Regions from separate parts of the Homo sapiens genome. Here all the other regions are linked to region 1. Evidence: promoter capture Hi-C in 16 types of primary human blood cells and fetal thymus (Javierre and others, 2016). All regions are on one chromosome and are shown on one strand. The core of a region is centred on a gene start or on the middle of the fragment in contact, and the rest is flanking DNA. Distances in the headings are between cores, read along the strand shown. Region 1 holds the start of ESYT2 (extended synaptotagmin 2). Region 2 has its middle 16 kb from the start of DNAJB6. Region 3 overlaps DNAJB6 (DnaJ heat shock protein family (Hsp40) member B6). Region 4 overlaps DNAJB6 (DnaJ heat shock protein family (Hsp40) member B6).

Region 1 (4,630 bases), core at 1,455-3,954:
CTCAGCAGACAGAACTAGAAACTATTTCTGTGTTTATATGCACATATACCTACACATGTGTGCACACACATACAGCTATCTTTATATCTATCTGTATATACATATTTTAAAAAAATGAGTTCATACTACCACTTCCAGTTCCAATCCAATCCCTCAGTGTTCTTTTTAGCCTTCCCTCTTCCATGTTTTTACCTTCTCCAACAGCAAGAAACCTGGCTTTCACTGTCCCCAGTATATTTAATTTGCTGGTATAACCTCCAAATTGAAGAGATGCAGAGCACGTGCTCCCACCCTCCATAACGAGACGTATTTAGAGGTGTGGGGGAGGACCCAAAAGCAGGAAGAGTTGAACCTAAGCACAAGATAGCACTTTCCTCTGAAACCAGGAAGGCTGGAACTTCGCAGCTGTGCACCGGAGCACTCGGAATGACACTCCAGAGAAAGCAGCACTTCTCCTTGTCTACAAGAAGGAAAGGATGGAGGGGTCATGAAAGGTCACAGGAGATTGAGGGGTATAATATTAGCAAAAATCTAAGAGCCGAGCTGGACCTGCAGTCAGACCAGACACCTGTAAGACTGAGCTGTGGCAGAGCCTTAGGATCTGCTTTCTGCAGGCAATTAACCACAGGGAGGGGCTGGAAACCCGGGGCTCACACAGAGGGAAGCTGAGGACACTTGGGCTGACTGGTATGCAACATGGAAACTTCTCTTCAATCTAGTTTACATCCTTGGGTCAACCACTGGATGGCACATGGCACAGGATTTTTTTTTTTTTCTTGAGACGTAGTCTTGCTCTGTCGCCCAGGCTGGAGTGCAGTGGTGCGATCTCGACTCACTGCAACCTCCGCCTCCCGGGTTCAAGTAATTCTCCTGCCTCAGCCTCCCGAGTAGCTGGGACTCCAGGTGCGCGCCGCCATGCGCGGCTAATTTTTTGTTATTTTTAGTAGAGACGGGGTTTCACCATGTTGGCCAGGATGGTCTTGATCTCCTGACCTCGTGATCTGCCCTCCTCGGCCTCCCAAAGTGCTGGGATTACAGAATTTTTTACGTGGCTTATGTTTATGCAAGTCTTTGTAGGATGTGATCCTACAATTTTCCAGTAGAGGAAAGCTGCAAAAGAAAGGCTCAGGCTCCTTTCTGTGTCAACAAAGCAATTACTTGCTTTTGTGTTGAGGCTTAGTTTTGAATGAAAGGTGGTGTTAGGAGCATTAACCGGTTGCATATTTACAATCTACATAATATAATTTGTTGCTGCAGCAAACCAGGGACTGTGAAGAGTAAGAAAAGGGAAACCACTTCCATTCCTTGCTTGGGGTTTACTGCCCTTGCCTGGAGTTGAGAGTTTAGACTCTGCAATGTTTTACATATGTGATATAATCTCCACATACATATGCACACAAAATTATGAAGACGCAGGAACGAGGGGAGACAGATTCCTATGTAAAGGTGACCCTGCTTCTTCTGGGCATTTGTTTATTCATTCAGTACCTGCCAGTGCCCTACTCTGTTACAAATTCAGTAAAAATTTCCTTGGAATTCACTGAATATGCTCAAAAACAGTCAAGTAGGATGTTCTTTGCTACTGTTTGGCTTGGAGTTTCCTTGAAAGAAACTACAGAACAAATATAATTAACTCGATTGAATTCACTGGAAAGTAAAGTGATCAATAGTTGTGTTTTTGAGTTAACTGAAAAGTGACCTCAGGAATCACAGGAAAGGCCCAAAATTAGTCGTTTGAAACAGCTATTCATAGTTGGCCACAATATTAACACCTTCGGCGAAGCTGCGTGGTGCCCGGGGTGGAGTTCCCGAGTGTCAACAGCGTCCCTTGGGCGCTTGCGGTGGTCTTTGCCCGGCACTACCAGACCCCTCAGGGAGGACTTTTGGGATTAAAGGCATCTTAAAAGCCAACTGAACTGTGTGAGAGTTGTCAAGGTCACAACGGAGTCGTTTGTGTTTAAAACCCTGACAAGCAGGGTGGGAAGGGCCCCAGAGGCAGCGTTCTCACGCCGGAATGCCCGATAACAAGACCGTCCCGAGAGACTCCGCAAAAGCCACAACCTTGCACACTGGCTAGGCAACCTCACACCGAAAAATACCGGAGGACTCCCGCCAGCGGCGCCCGTCCGACCTCCGGCGGGCGGCGCCCTCTCACCCGTCCTCCTGGCCGCAAAATGACCGCAAACAGGGACGCCGCCCTCTCATCCCACCGCCACCCCGGCTGCGCTCAGCGGCCGCGCACCCCCACGTTTGCCAGCAGCTCCCAGAGGCGGTCAGCCTTTGGGTTTGACGACGGCAACTTCCCGGGCCTCGGCGAGCGCAGCCACGCACCCGGAAGCCGCCTCGGGGCGCGACGCCGAGCCAAAACCGCCCGCGGGCTCCGAGGCCACAGGCAAGTGGGGAGGGTGCCCCGTGGGGCTCGAGGGGACGCAGGCACGCCCAGCCCACGCACCGAGCACTCTCCTTTCCCGTCCCCGGCTCCCGCCAGCCGAGACACAACGCTCGCGTGATGACGTCGTGCGCCTGCCCGGCCCACTCCAGTAGTCTCCGACCCGGCCCACGGCCCGCCCCGCGCGATGACGTCAGTATCCACCCCGCCCGCTCCCGGTGACGTGCCAGCCCCAGGCCCACGCCGCTCCCGCCCCGCGTGATGACGCCACCGTCCCGGGCGGAGGCGGGCGTGCGGCGGAGCCGCGTCCCCTCAGAGGGGCGCTGGCGCGGGGCTGAGCCGCCCGGGATCAGCGCGAGCACCCAGCCCGCCTCGGCCGGGAGGGCAGCGCGGCACTGCGGGGCGATGAGCGGCGCCCGGGGCGAGGGCCCGGAGGCGGGCGCCGGCGGGGCTGGGGGCCGCGCGGCGCCTGAGAACCCCGGGGGCGTGCTGAGCGTGGAGCTGCCCGGGCTGCTGGCGCAGCTGGCGCGGAGCTTCGCGCTGCTGCTGCCCGTGTACGCGCTGGGCTACCTGGGGCTCAGCTTCAGCTGGGTTCTCCTCGCGCTCGCGCTGCTCGCCTGGTGTCGCCGCAGCCGCGGCCTCAAGGCCCTGCGCCTGTGCCGCGCGCTGGCGCTGCTGGAAGACGAGGAGCGCGTCGTGCGCCTGGGGGTGCGCGCCTGCGACCTGCCCGCCTGGGTGAGTGCAGACCCCTGCCCGTCCCGACCCCTGACCACCAGTCCCGATCTCCCCTCGTCCAGGCAGGCACTCCCCTCCCCGCGACCTGCCGCCTGGGTGAGTGCAGACCCCAGCCCTGCCCCGGCTCCCGCCTTCGTAGTCCCCCACCCACCCCGGTCCAGGCAGGCGCTTCCCTTCCGCCTGGGCGAGTGCAGACCCCAGCCCCGGCCCCCGGGCCGGTTCCTGCGACCTGCCAACCTAGGTGAGTGCAGACCCCGCCCCGCCCCCCGGCCCCGACTCCCAGCCTGCTGGCGACCTGCCCGCTAGGGCGAGTGCAGACCCCAGCCCCGCCCCGGCCTCCGGCCCACTCCCTGCGAACCTGTCCGCCTGGGGCCGCCGCCCGCTGCTCGCCGCTCCCGCCCTAGTCCTGAGTGCTCCGTGCCCTCCCTCCGTCCAAGTCGGGCGTCCCCTTCTCCGCTTCCCCGCCCGCCCAGGCTCCGGGTCCGGGGCGCGTCTGCCCTCGTGAAGCCTCCCCTCGCCGTCCCGCGCGGCTTTCTCGGAGACCCCTCTTCACAAAGCCCGCTTCCCTCCCCCGGCCTGCAGACCCCGAGCGCCAGCGGCAGGTACCGGGCTTGGCGCCCCCTCTTCGGCCGCGGCCCTGCCCGGAGCGCGCGCTTCCTCCTGGTGCCGCCCGCGGGGTCTCCTTAGGGGCCTGAGCGGCCGGTTCTGCTCTCAGAGCGCCCAGCGCGATTCTCGTGCGCATTCCCAAAGCCCTGCCGGCCTGGAAATGCTCCGGGTGGCTTCAGCTTTTCCTTCTCTCTGTTTTTTAAAAAACGTAATGACAGCTGGTGGGGGAGAAGTTAACTTTTTCTTCTACCGGGAGAAGACGCACTCGTGTCTTGGTTGTTTCTGACGCATTTCAAGGGCAGTAAGTGTCTCTCGAAAGATGTGGAGATATTAGATAATTGAAAGATTGTTTCAGTTTTTTTGCAAGTATAATTGTGAGACTGAGCATTTTTATATGGGATCGACCTGAATCCAGTGTGAATGTGTGTGTGTGTGGCAGGAAGTTTTGGAAGAGTTGCAGCAATAACAAGAGTCATGGTATTATTTTATTTTTAACCCGGCAGTTCTCTACCTCGTATATTTATGGACTATAGACACGAAGAGTTGGCTTCAAATCTTTTTCTTGTCATTCCCTAATTCTTTCTTAGCCATGACTTGGCTTCACAGTTTCACACTGCAAGAAAGGATTTTAATGATTCTTCCATTAGGCTTAATATAAACTTTGGGGTGAAGGTGACCAGCAGTGGGTTTCGGAAGGGTCATTTTCTCTTAGAGGAGAAAAGTCCCTGTTTCCAGTCATGAGACACCTGAGAAGTAAGGCATGACACAGATGGCAAACAAGAATTAGAAAGGAGGCGTGCCCAAGACAAGAAGAAGGTAGTAGATGCTACTTTGTGACGTCATATTGCAACTGGAGTAAGAATATAATGTAAGGAGCTTGGGAATGTACAGTTCTGCCGA
Region 2 (4,630 bases), core at 899-3,398, 1.5 Mb after region 1:
TTACTGCTTTCAAATTATTATAATTTTCAATTATAATCAATTTAATTGAAATAATTTTTTATTTGTATTTATTTTTTTTAAATATATTTTTTACACAGTCTCACCACGTTGCCCAAGCTAGAATGAAGTGCGTGCTCACGGCTCTCTGCAGCCTCCATCTCCCCAGCTCAAGTGATCCTCCCACCTCGGCTTCCTGAGTAGCTACGACAACAGGCATGTGCCTGTTTTTGATTTGTTCATTTATTTATTATTTATTTATTGAGACAGAATCTCGCTCTGTCGCCCAGGCTGGTGTACAGTGGCATGATCTCAGCCCCCAGTAACCTGCACCTCCTGGGTTCAAGTGATTCTCATGCCTCAGCCTCCTGAGTAGCTGGGATTACAGGCACATGCCACCATGCCCAGCTAATTTTTGTATTTTTAGTAGAGACGGGGTTTCTCCATGTTGGCCAGGGTGGTCTCGAACTCCCGACTTCAGGTGATCCACAAGCCTCGGCCTCCCAAAGTGCTGAGATTACAGACATGAGCCATCGCACCCGGCCAAATTTCTATTGAAGAGATATTCCCTACCCTTCCCAGAACAAAGTATGGGACCAAATCATTATTTTGATATAAAGTAATACATGTTTGAGCTCCTTTTTTTTTTTTTTTTGAGATGGAGTCTCTCTCTGATGCCCAGGCTAGAGTGCGGTGGTGCAATCTCAGCTCACTGCAAGCTCCGCCTCCTGGGTTCACGCCATTCTCCTGCCTCAGCCTCCCAAGTAGCTGGGACTACAGGCGCCAGCCACCACGCCCGGCTAATTTTTTTTGTATTTTTAGTAGAGACTGGGTTTCACCGTAGCCAGGATGGTCTCGATCTCCTGACCTCGTGATCTGCCCACCTTGGCCTACCAAAGTGCTGGTATTACAGGGGTGAGCCACCGCACTTGGCCATGTTTGAGCTCCTGACCTTGCTGAGGGCTTTCTATTTTATCAGTTAAAATTTAGTTGCTCATAACTGAAATTAATTCTGTATTTATTTGTTTTATTTATTTTTTTGAGACGGAGTCTCACTCTGTCACCAGGCTAGAGTGCAGTGGCTCCATCTCAGCTTACTGCAACCTCTGCCTCCCGAATTCAAGCAATTCTCCTGCCTCAGCCTCCCGAGTAGCTGGGACTACAGGCATGCATCACCACGCCCAGCTAAGTTTTGTGTGTTTAGTAGAGACAGGGTTTCACCATGTTGGCCAGGATGGTCTCAATCTCTTGACCTCATGATATGCCCACCTCGGCCTCCCAAAGTGCTGGGATTACAGGCATGAGTCACCACGCCCGGCCTAATTCTGTATTTCATATGTTTTGCAAATTGGCATTCACTGTGATTTCAATATCATTCATAGTAGTAATAATAATACCAAGTATATAAGGGCTGCCATCAAAAAATGCAAGAGTTTTATTCTAAAAATTTTATTTCCGCTGGATGCAGGGGCTCATCCCTATAATCCCAGCACTTTGGGAAACCGAGACGGGAGGATAGCTTGAGCTCAGGAGTTCAAGACCAGGCTGAGTAACATAGTGAGACCCCATTTCTACCAAACTTTTGAAAATTAGGTGGCCCAGCACAGTGGCTTATGCCTGTAATCCCAGCATTTTGGGAGGCCGAGGCAGACAGATCACTTGAGGTCAGGAGTTTGAGACCAGCCTGGCCAACATGGTGAAACCCCATTTCTACTAAAAATGCAAAAATTAGCCAGGCATGGTGGTGCATGCCTGTAATCCCAGCTACTCGGGAGGCTGAGGCATAAGAATCACTTGAACCCAGGAGGTGGAGGTTGCAGTGACCTGAGATCACACCACTCCACTCCAGCCTGGGCGAGAGTGAGACTCTATCTCCAAAAATAAACATAAAAATAAATATCCCTACCTTGCACTGTATACAAACATTAACTCAAGAGAGATCACAAACTCAAATGAAAATCTGAAACAATAACACTTCTAGAAGAAAACAGGTGAAAATAATTGAGACTTTCTGGGAGGCAGAGTTTTTTTGCTCAGGATACCAAAAGCATTTGCCATAAAAGAAAAAAATTCATGGCTGGGCGCAGAGGCTTATGCCTGTAATCCCAGCACTTTGGGAGGCCGAGGCGGGAGGATCGCAAGGTCAAAAGTTCAAGACCAGCCTGGCCAAGCTGGTGAAACACCGCCTACACTAAAAATACAAAAATTAGCCGGGCACGGTGGCAGGTACCTGTAATCCCAGCTATTAGGGAGGCTGAGGCAGGAGAATCGCTTGAACCCGGGGGTCAAAGGTTGCAGTGAGCCAAGACTGTGCCACTGCTCTCCAGCCTGGGCAACAGAATGAGACTCTGTCTCAAAAAAAAAAAAAAAAAAGAAAATTCATAAATTAGATCTCTTCAAAATTAAACACTTTCACTTTCCAAAAACCACAGTATAAAAATGAAAAAGCCAGGCTCTGAGCCCAGAGTTCTGGGCTCAGAATGCTGTGGTGGCTTCCACCTGCAGTTCCAGCTGCTTGAAGGTCTGAGGCAATAGGATCACTGAGCACAGGAGTCTGAGACCAGCCTCAGCAACAACAACAACAACAAAAGACAAGCCCAGGCCGGGGGCGGTAGCTCAAGCCTGTAATCCCAACACTTTGGGAGGCCAAGGCGGGCAGCTGATGAGGTCAGGAGTTCCAGACCAGCCTGATCAACATGTTGAAACCCCGTCTCTACTAAAAATACAAAAAAAAAATTAGCCAGGCTTGGTGGCGTGCGCCTGTAATCCCAGCTACTCAGGAGGCTGAGGCAGGAGAATCACTTGAACCCAGGAAACGGAGGTTGCAGTGAGCTGAAATGGCACGACTGCACTGCAGCCTGGGCAACAGAGCGAGACTCCATCTCAAAGACAAGCCCAAGGCCAAGCAGGGTGGCTCAAGCCTGTAACGCCAGCACTTTGGGAGGCCGAGGCAGGTGGATCAGGACTTGAGGTCAGGAGTTCAAGACCAGCCTGGCCAACATGGCAAAACCCTGTCTCTACTGAAAATACAAACATTAACCAGGTGTCGTGGTGCTTGCCTTTAATCCCAGCTACTCAGGAGGCTGAGGTATGAGAATCACTTGAACCCATAAGGTGGAGGTTGCAGTGAGCTGGGATGGAGCCACTGCACTCCAGCCTCGGCTACAGAGGAAGTCTCTGTCTCAACAAAATAAAACAAAGACAGCCCTAGACTGAGCTGGACCCAGGACGAGATGCAGGGGTGACCTTCCAGGCCCAATCATAGCTCAGGATGAGATCCTGGGGTGACCTTCCAGGCCCAATCATAGCTCAGGATGAGATCCTCGGGGTGACCTTCCAGGCTAACCATAGCTCAGGATGAGATCCTCGGGGTGACCTTCCAGGCCAACCATAGCTCCATGCATAACCTATGCCACTTGTGGCCTCTCTCGCGGGACATGTAGTCCCCTGTTATAAACTGTCCCTACCAGTAGCCTTCAGGTCCCTGCCCGGGCTCTAAAAGGTCATCAGGGTGAGCAGACACGGGGGAGCTTTACAGAGGAGGTGGGTGTTTGCAATAATTTTCATCCACACTTCTCCAAATGGAAGGGGCTGCCTCATGAAGTAATGAGAGGAGTCAAACTCAGAGCAGACTAATCTCTGTTATGCTATTTGAGAGAAAATTCAAACCATGAGGGTTAAACCAGAAGTACTAGACGTCCTGCCAATTCAAAACTCTGGTGCCGATCACAATGGTGTGCTCAAAGAGGCCAGGGTGCAGAGGACCTGGCTCCCTTTCCTTCCAGTCAACTCTGCATCTCTTTGTATTTTTATTTTTATTTATTTATTTTTGTTTTGAGATGGAGTTTTGCTCTTGTTGCCCAGGCTGGAGTGCAATGGCGCAATCTTGGTGCACCGCAACCTCCGCGTCCTGGGTTCAAGCAATTCTCCTGCCTCAGCCTCCCGAGTAGCTGGGATTACAGGCATGCACCACCATGCCCGGCTAATTTTGTATTTTTAGTAGAGACAGGGTTTCTCCATTTTGGTCAGGCTGGTCTCGAACTCCTGACCTCAGGTGATCCGCCTGCCTTGGTCTCCCAAAGTGCTAAAATTACAGGTGTGAGCTACCATGCCCAGCCATCTCTCTCTTTTTATAATTTAATAAAGTTTTTTTTTTTTTTGGCTGGGCGCAGTGGCTCATGCCTGTAATCCCAGAACTGTTGCCTGTCACCCAGGCTAGAGCGCAGTGGCAGGATCTCGGCTCACTGCAACCTCCACCTCCTGGGTTCAAGCGATTCTCCTGCCTCAGCCTCCTGAGTAACTGGGATTAAAGGCACCTGCCACCACACCTGGCTAATTTTTGTATTTTTATTAGAGACAGCATTTCACCATGTTGGCCAAGCTGGTCTCCAACTCCTGACCTCAGGTGATCCACCTGCCTTGGCCTCCCAAAGTGCTGGGATTACAGGCGTGAGCCACCGTGCCCAGCCGGGACATGGGATTTTAATAAAAGTCCTAAGAGTATGTAAAGTCCCTAAACAGTCCCTTTCATTTTCTTCCATGGGCCATAAATTGAGTCAGTTCTATAATGAGGCTGGACTGGCAAAGAATCAGGCAGATTTCCAGCAGGAAGGGGCGTCAGATGGTACCAGAT
Region 3 (4,630 bases), core at 726-3,225, 1.5 Mb after region 1:
TGGCCCTGAATCCTTCTGGCCCGCCCAGCACTGTGAGGATGAGCACAGAGGACAAAGCTCCTCTACTTCCCTCTTCTCCTGGCCCGTGTGTTCAATGCACATTACAGAAAACAGGTGATCCCAGAAAAATGTGGGCCCTCAGGAGGACTGGAAGGCACACTCAAGCTGCCTTCCCTGCCCAGCGAGAGCCTGGACTCCAGCCCTCCACCCTACAGAAGCTCAGCCAGGAAAAACCAGCTTCCCTCACCAAGAAACCAGTGCATCACCTGCATTTTAAAATAATATACTAAATCAAAAGAAGTAATTTCTACAGCAGATCACTCACATCAGAGCTCTACAAGCATAGGTGTCCATTAGAACCCCACTTGGCAAAAACCTTTTTAAAACCATGCTGCTCAAAAGACTCCATAAGCCAAATGCAGCTATTTAAATCTGAAGTCATTAAAATTATACACAATTTAAAATTTGGCCCCTCAGCAATCTTTGTTTGGATATGACCCCCAAAAGCACAAGGAACAAAAGCCGAAACAGACAAGTGGGATTACATCACACTGAAAAGCTTCTAGACAGCAAAGACACAGGAGTGAAACAACCTTGGAAATGTGCAGAAGGATCACTTGAGCCCAAGAGCTTGAGACCAGCCTGGGCAACACAGTAAGACACCATCTCTACAAAAAGATAAAAAAAATTAGCTGAGTGGGGTGGCACATGCCTGTACTCCCAGCTATGCAGGAGGCTGAAATGGCAGGATCACTTGAGCGCAAGAGATCAAGGATGCTGTGAGCCATGTCATGTCACTGCACTCCAACTTGGACAAGAGACAGGGCAAGGCCCTGTCTCAGAAAAAAACAAAATATATAAAAAATAAAAATTTTAAGCCAGGCGCAGTGGCTCACGCCTGTAATCCCAGCACTTTGGGAGGCTGAGGCGGGTGGATCACCTGAGGTCAGGAATTCAAGACCAGTCTGGACAACATGGTGAAATCCTGTCTCTACAAAAAATACAAAAACTAGCCAGGTGTGGTGGCGGGCGCCTGTAATCCCAGTTACTTGGGAGGCTGAGGCAGGAGAATCACTTGAACCTGGAAGGCAGAGGTTGCAGTGAGCCGAGACCACTCCATTGCACTCTAGCCTGGGCAACAAGGGCGAAACTTCATCTCAAAAAATAAAATAAATAAAAATAAACAAAAAACTTTAAAGTTAAAAATGATAAAATAAAAGTGACAGTGCTGTAAAGTAGCACTTTAAAAGAAATCACAGCTGGGTACAGTAGCTCATGCCTGTAATCCTAACACTTTGGCAGGCTGAGGCAGGGGGATCACTTCAGCTCAGGAGTTCAAGACCACGCTGAGTAACACAGCAAAATCTTGTCTCTACGAAATATAAAAACTCAGTAGGGTGTGGCAGTGTGCACCTGTAGTCCCAGCTACTGGAAGTGGCTGAGGCAGGAAAATCACTTGAGCCCAGGCAGTCGATGCTAGTGAGACGTGAACGCACCAATGCCCTCCAGCCTACGTAACGGAGCAAGACCCTGTCACAAAAATAATAAATTTTTTTTTAAATAAAAAATAAAAAAACAAATAATTTCAGGCTGGAAGGGAATTTGCGTAGAGCAGGAAGATATTCTCTAACTACAAAATTAACTTTTTTTTTTTTTTGAGTTTGAGTCTCACTCTGTTGCCCAGGCTGGAGTGCAGCAGCACAATCTCAGCTCACTGCAACCTCCACCTCCCTGGTTCCAGCGATTCTCCTGCATCAGCCTCCCGAGTACCTGGGACTACAGGTGTGTCCCACAATGCCTGGCTATTTTTTTTTTTTTTTGAGACGGAGTCTCACTCTGTCACCCAGGCAGAGTGCAGTAGAGTGCAGTAGAGGGATCTCGGCTCACTGCAAGCTCCGCCTCCCGCGTTCACGCCATTCTCCTGCCTCAGCCTGCTAAGTAGCTGAGACTACAGGCACCTGTCACCACGCCCAGCTGATTTTTGTATTGTTTTAGTAGAGATGGGGTTTCACCATGCTAGCCAGGATGGTCTCAAACTCCTGACCTTGTGATCTGACCACCTTGGCCTCCCAAAGTACTGGGATTACAGGTGTGAGCCACCACACCCGGCCCATAATTAACATTTCTAATAACAATTATGAAACTTCTTTAAACTATTAACTAGGTCCTACTGTCTATTAAGGAAGCCATAGAAAACTTTTCAATTAAGAAATTAAGAAAAAATATTTCTTAGGAAAACTCGGTTTGTTAATTTCTGCAATTTCCAAAAGCAATACATCTAAATCAAGTTTAAAAAAACGAAAAATCTCTATTAAAACCATGAAAAAAATTAGCCTAATCGCCATTAATCAAAAATAACCTTCTCCAATAAATTCAATGACCTCTAAGTTTAGGACTTTTAAAAAAACACGTCACATAAAGATTAGGCGTGGGTAGCTCATGCGTATAATCCCAGCACTTTGGGAGGCCATGGCAGGTGGATCACCTGGGGTCAGGAGTTTGAGAACAGCATGGCCAACGTGGTGAAACCCCGTCTCTACTAAAAATACAAAACCCAGTCAGACGTGGTGGCGCCTGTAGTTCCAGGTGAGGCAGGAGAACTGCTTGAACCCGGGAGAGTTTGCAGTGAGCTGAGATCACACCACAGCACTCCAGCCGGGGCAACAGAGCAAGACTCCATCTCAAAAAAAAATAGTGGTTTCTAAATTCATCTGAGGCCAGGTGAGGTGGCTCACGCCTGTAATCCCAGCACTTTGGAGGGCCGAGGCACGCAGATCACCTGAGGTGTTCAAGACCAGCCCGGCCAACATGGCAAACCCCTTTCTCTACTAAAAATACAAAAATTAGCCAGGCATGGTGGTGAGCGCCTGTAGTCCCAGCTACTCGGCAGCCTGAGGCAGGAGAATTGCTTGAACCTGGGAGGTGCAGGCGCAGTGAGCCAAGATAGTGCCACTGCACTCCTGCCTGAGCAACAGAGCAAGACTCTGTCTTAAAAAAAAAAAAAAAATTACCTGGGTGTGGTGGTGCACATCTGTAATCCCAGCTACTCAGAAAGAAGGCTGAAGCACAAGAATTGCTTGAGCCTGGGAGGCAAAGGTTGCAGTGAGCCAAGATCACGCCGCTGCACTCCAGCCTAAGTGACAGAGTGAGACTTGGTCTCAAACAACAAAAAAAAAAAGCAAAAACAAAAAAAGTACAGACAGGTAGGAAAAAAAAAAACCCACAGCAGTGAATTTTCATTCCTTATCACACACATCACCTACTTATTTCATTATCCAGTATGTCCTAAAATATTTCTGAAACAAACACAGAAGTTATTTCCCCATTACTCAAGATCAGAGACCATTTCTTCAACTAGCACTCATCACCTATTAGATACTTCCAAGCTTAACTCCCTTTCATTAAAAAATCATAATAGGCCAGGCTTGGTGGCTCACACCTGTAATCCCAGCACTTTGGAAGGTCGAGGAAGGTGGATTGAGGTCACAAGTTCAAGACCAGCCTGGCCAACATGGTGAAACCCTATCTCTACTAAAAATATAGAAGTTAGGCCAGCACGCTGGCTCACGCCTGTAATCCCAACACTTTGGGAGGCCAAGGCAGGCGGATGACCTGAGGTCAGGAGTTGGACAGGGCAAAACCCTGTCTCTACTAAAAATACAAAATTAGCTGGGTGTCGTGGTGCATGCCTGTAATCCCATGTACTCGGGAGGCTGAGGCAGGAGAATCGCTTGAACCTGGGAGGCAGAGGTTGCAGTGAGCTGAGATTGCACCACTGCACTCCAGCCTGGGCAACAAGAGTGAAACTCAAAAAAAAAAAAAAAAAAAAAAAAAAATTAGCCAGGATAGTGGCACGTGCCTGTAATCCCAGCTACTCCGGAGCCTGAGGTAGGAGAATCACTTGACACTAGGAGGCGGAGGCTGGGGTGAGCTGAGATCACGCCACTGCACTCCAGTCTGGGTGACAGAGTGAGACCCTGTCTCAAAAAAAATTATTATTATAATAAAATAGGGCCAGGCTCGGTGCTTCACACCTGTAATCCCAGCACTTTGGGAGGCCAAAGCAGGTGGATCACCTGCTTCCAAACCAGTCTGGCCAACATGGCAAAACCCACTCTCTACTAAATATACAACAATTAGCCAGGTGTAGTGGCGAACGCCTGTAATCTCAGCTACCAGGGAGGCTGAGGCAGGAGAATCGCTTGAACCCCAGAGGTGGAGGTTGCGGTGAGCCAAGATCGCGACACTGCACTCCAGCCTGGGTGACAGTGTGAGACTCTAAAATAAACAAAGCAACACTCGGTTAAGTACTCAGTCTCCAGTGCTGCTGAAACTTATTTTTTCCAACTTTCTTGAATTCTGGATTCCATTATTAATCACAGGAAGGTCATCAGGACATACACAAACTAGAAAGAATCTAATTCAATCAATACTTTCTAAGCACTCTGTGTCCTGGACATTCCTATAAACACAAATAACTTCAGATTCAAAGCCCACCCAAGTGGTACATGCCATCTCAAGGTGGCAGAGAGGAATAAGTATTAGTACACAGTTCATAAGCATACCAACTAGAGCACACACGTATATATGCACAACACAAATATAAAACACACTTTTAATTTAAGCCTTT
Region 4 (4,630 bases), core at 1,520-4,019, 1.4 Mb after region 1:
AGGGCTCCCAGGAGTGGAGAATCTTTGTAAAGCCAAGACGCAGGTCCTTCGGATCCACATGGCAAGCCTCCAACAGCAGGCTGGGCCGCAGGTCGCACAGCAGGAGGGGTGTGGGGAGTAAGCCTCTGCTCTACACTCCAGGCAGCTGTGGTCCAGGGCATCTCTGAATCAAGGGCTGTGGGACAGCAACCACCATCTGGGTTTCCGCAGCCAGCACTCACGGGATGCTTCCAGGGCACACCTGCCAGGACACAGCAGCAGCCAGACAGACGAGAATTACTGCCTTCACAGGACCTGCATTCCTGTTGGGGTTGCACTCCGAGGCAGGAATCTTCTCCCAATCAGGGTACAGGGAAAAGGGCAAAGCGCAGTCAGGGGTCTGCCCTGAGTGTGCAACTTGCCCAGGCCACAAAGCTCAGAGTCGAGTCCTTAGTGAACAGTTAGGTAAGACCGACTGATACCCTGCACAAAAGGCAGCAAATACTGACCAAAGCACAGAAGCCAGGACAGGCCTTCTAACGCCCAATCATAAACTCTGCTGTCTCTGGAAATCAGTGACGTCTAGATTTCTAACACAGGAATAGCTGCTGTGACATTCCCTCTTTTCACCTTTTTAAACAGGAAGACGAAATAACGTAGCCAAATGACAGACTTCGGTCTACCCCATTTCAACCATTGGTCACACTTTAGTACCAAGGCCTACATCTAGCTCCCCCCACGTCCCTAGAACAGCTAGGAATACCATATCCAAAGGCTTTGAAATCAAGACCCCAAAGGGTAAGATCTCATGCCTTCGTTTTTAAAAATACAAACAGCAGTGGGTTATGTAATTCAGTCCCCTCCAGACCCCACGAAACCAAGTATTCAAATCAACTAAACATAATTTTGTGCTTGAAAACCTCCGAAATAACAACATCTGCCTCCATTCTGTCACTGAACATGCTAATGGCTAAATTTCAACACTGCTGCCAATCAATAACAGAGATAATATGCCAATTATTTATTACCGTTGAATCCTCTGCAAATAAAAATGTTTCTAATTCATTCTATAGTGCTTAAAACAAGATCAGTATTCCCGGAAAGAAATGATATCTAGAAGGTAATCAAGACAGGATAAGCAGGCATTTTTCAAGCTCTAATTAATAAACAGAAATTAAAATTGATTGGAAAGACAATCACCCCACAGTGTTCCTCAAGCGTTTCCACATTGTAAGGAACATTTACTTCAGCACACTAGGTGCACAGGTAAGTTTAGCAAATGGTGACACTAACTCTACCCACTTCTAAAATCTACTCATTGAAGGACTTCCAAGAGGAAGAATGACAAGTCGCCCATGATGCCACTATTGATTGACATCTTTCAGATTATTTAAAACCCCGAGTTTCCAAAATCAAGCCTGGAATCTTTGGAATCTAAAAAGCTTAAATTTTATAAAGGATAGAAATATAAGGAATAATCCATCACTCAAATCAAACCAACGGGGTGGGGAGCTACAAGGAATAGGAAAACAGGAGATGACAAAAATACAGATTATTGAGCCCTCCAGACAAAAGGATGCCAAACAGGGATTAAAAAACTACACTTTGGGTACAACATACACTGCTTGGGTGACAGCAGCACTAACATCTCAGAATTCACTATATAATGCATCTACGTCACCAAAAACCACTTACCCCCCCCCCAAAAGCTATTGAAGTATTTTTAAAAATTAAAGACTTTAAAAATAAAACTTAAAAAAGAATCTCAAACAGGGAAGTTGAGCACAAACCAAACACAGCAGACAGCACACCCCAGAATGGATGGGACCACATGGGGCTGTGCACAACCAGATACGTGCCGTTAAGGAGCGTTCAGCTTCCTATTTTCAGAGGCGCTCAACACTACAGCAAGTAAAGAGACTGTTGAATTTACCAAAAACTGTAATTTAAATCAAATGCTATTATTCTTCCAAGCCATCACTTACTTGAGTGATGGTATCAATGCTCACAGCCATTTCCTAACTTTTCAAAGGTACTCTCATGCACCCTTAGACTGAATTCTCTAGGAATAAACTTAACGGGGTTTAAAAATGAAAGGTGTAAGATTTGACAGCAACAAATAGGCTTTCTATTCTATTAGTAACTTAATAAAATTACACTTCTATCAATGGAAGAACAGAATAAAAGTAATTTTCTCAGCCAGGCGCAGTGGCTCACGCCTGTAATCCCAGCACTTTGGGAGGCCAAGGTGGATGGATCACTTGAAGTCAAGAGTTCCAGACCAGCCCTGACAACATGGTGAAATCCCATCTCTACTAAAAATACAAAAATTAGCTGAGTGTGGTGGTGGGTGCCTGTAATCCCAGCTACTCAGGAGGCTGAGGCAGGAGAACTGCTTGAACCCGGGAGGCAGAGGTTACAATGAGCCAAGATCACACCACTGCACTCCAGCCTGGATGACAGAGCAAGACTCCGTCTCAAAAAAACAAACAAACAAACAAACAAACAAAACAGTAGTTTTCCCAAGTACAAATGAATGCTCCCTCCTCCTCAAAAAAAAATTTTCACAAGAAAGATTCCTTAGGAGTCAAACATATTTTACCTGTAACACCATGTTGAGTAAACTGTTCACAGCTAGAGTTGCATGAAACACTCCACAAAGTCTAGAACAACCAAATGTGTTCTAAAATTGTGTAGTACCAACGCTATAGCAAAATGCTTCCTAGTTTAAGAATTACAGGTAAAGACTTTTCATTTTCCTGGTATTTCTGGACATCCCTGGATGTCTCAAGGCTGCTGCACTGACTCATCCCACCCACTAATGAAAAATATAAAACGCCTTAGTCCAAGTATCTACTTGAATTTATTTAGTAACAAAAAACCACCCGTCCTGATGGCATAAACAAAAGCGCGCTCTATGATCGCACAATGCTAGTTGTGAGTGGGATTTCCAACACTAGAGGGCGCTGTCCCGCTTTCCCGCACGTGCCATGGCTGCATACCTACCTTATCCAGAGACAGGAAGTGCCGCGTGCTGGGTTATTTCCGACACAACAGACAAGCACATCACTCGTTGTTCTTCTTGTACTTCAACTGTCCCCAATTACTTAACTGTTGCTATGCTTTTTTGAGCTCCTATGAAATTCCTTAAAATATTTTTTACTTATTTTCAGTAACAGCACGTGAGGTTGCTTAAGGGCTCTGGCGTATCCCGAGCAATCTCTATGCCCTCCTGCAAAGCCAGCACGGATGGAACACGCTACGCTGTTTGTCAGGGAACCGCCTGTCCTTCTAGCGGTTTTCACGCTGTTTAGTTCCAAAACAGTTTCAAATTCAGTCAAAGTCTAGTTCAATATTCACTACAGCTAGGATTCTAGTTACCAATGGTAATCATGAAAGATATTACAAACTGAGAAACAAAAGACCTTGACTGTCCCAAAGTGATTTTTTTTTTTTTTTGAGATGAAGGCTTGCTCTGTCTCCCAGGCTGGAGTGCAATGGCACGATCTCAGCTCACTGCAACGTCCACCTCCCGGGTTCAAGCAATTCTTCTGCCTCAGCCTCCAGAGTAGCTGGGATTACAGGCGCCTGCCACCACACCCAGCTAATTTTTCTATTTTTAGTAGAGACAGGGGTTTCACCATCTTGGTCAGGCTGGTCTCAAACTCCTGACCTCAGGTGATCCACCCGCCTCAGCCTCCCAAAGTGCTGGGATTACAGGCGTTGAGCTACCGCGCCCGGATCCGTAAGTGATCTTACATCAAACTAGAACATACTTTAAGAGTGAAAAATTATACAATGGTTTCTTCCCTCTCCTGTAGAAATGTTACCATAATTAAATGTTTGATCAATTGCTAAATCACAACTTACAATATGAAAATCTTCATATACTTCAAATATACTGAAGAAAATGTCTACATGTAACTGAGGTGCGGCATCCACCTGAATGAACAGCACGAAACGCTATTAAAGTGACACTAGAAGCCCAGGCACAAATCATACACAGACACAAAAAAGCTCCAGATCCCACTCAGGAAGAATGCACCAACACATTCGCATTTATTTTCTTTTTTTTTTTTTTTAAAGCAAATGACAAAGACCCAGTTTACCAGCTTTACTTTTTTAAACCTAAGCTTAACATTACATATTTAAACAATTGTCAAAACTTACTAAGTTGCCAGCATTCATGCACAACTAGAAAACATCCTTAATTTATATTAAACCAGAAATGTATTACCATTAATGTATTAATATCTTTCACTACTAAATACTGAAAAAAATTGAAATTATTTCTGTAGAAGAATCGTCCTGGCAATGTTAACTTCACAGCAGGCCGACACTACGTGGCTCACATTTCAGACACAATGAAAAGCAGGTCCATGCTGGTGTTAGTGTACAATCTTGTCCTACACTAAAGAGTCAAGACTCACCTTGGAGTACGTTTAATAAAAAAGCAAAGTGCATACAGAGATTTACAACAATTTTAAAGACAAAAAAAAAATGGTCCTATTATGTGGTCCCAACAATCAACTCAAAAGTCTATGACAAATAGAGGCTCCGATGAGCTGTTTATAAATACTTTAGGTACAATTATACTGAAAGTCGAGTTCGTTTGAAATCTTCAAAAAAATGTTCCTGTTAATCCTCAAAT

Evidence for each region. The method cuts DNA at HindIII sites, captures the fragments that hold promoters and counts their contacts. A CHiCAGO score of 5 or more calls a contact.
Region 2: a contact is called between a fragment that was not itself captured here and the fragment with the promoter of ESYT2 in region 1, in 1 of 17 cell types (M0 macrophages). The highest score is 5.9, in M0 macrophages.
Region 3: a contact is called between a fragment that was not itself captured here and the fragment with the promoter of ESYT2 in region 1, in 1 of 17 cell types (monocytes). The highest score is 6.2, in monocytes.
Region 4: a contact is called between a fragment that was not itself captured here and the fragment with the promoter of ESYT2 in region 1, in 2 of 17 cell types (monocytes and erythroblasts). The highest score is 7.4, in monocytes.

What each region holds. Positions count from the first base shown.
Region 1 is chr7:158,827,583-158,832,212 of GRCh38, reverse strand. ESYT2 (extended synaptotagmin 2) reads left to right here and starts at 2,704. Exons shown (of 23, transcript NM_001367773.1): 1 at 2,704-3,124. The coding sequence starts at 2,795. RefSeq lists enhancers at 1,741-1,850, 3,861-3,930 and silencers at 2,161-2,890, 2,981-3,080, 3,131-3,320, 3,411-3,460, 3,541-3,740. The HindIII fragment of the contact is 12,010 bases long and covers 1-4,630 here.
Region 2 is chr7:157,318,695-157,323,324 of GRCh38, reverse strand. No RefSeq gene overlaps it. Among named protein-coding and RNA genes, the nearest start is that of DNAJB6, 16 kb to the left of the region's middle. The HindIII fragment of the contact is 5,596 bases long and covers 1-4,630 here.
Region 3 is chr7:157,341,540-157,346,169 of GRCh38, reverse strand. All of the region lies in intron 1 of DNAJB6 (DnaJ heat shock protein family (Hsp40) member B6), which reads right to left. Among named protein-coding and RNA genes, the nearest start is that of DNAJB6, 6.9 kb to the right of the region's middle. The HindIII fragment of the contact is 2,827 bases long and covers 562-3,388 here.
Region 4 is chr7:157,385,692-157,390,321 of GRCh38, reverse strand. All of the region lies in intron 8 of DNAJB6 (DnaJ heat shock protein family (Hsp40) member B6), which reads right to left. Among named protein-coding and RNA genes, the nearest start is that of DNAJB6, 51 kb to the right of the region's middle. RefSeq lists an enhancer at 1-77. The HindIII fragment of the contact is 2,691 bases long and covers 1,424-4,114 here.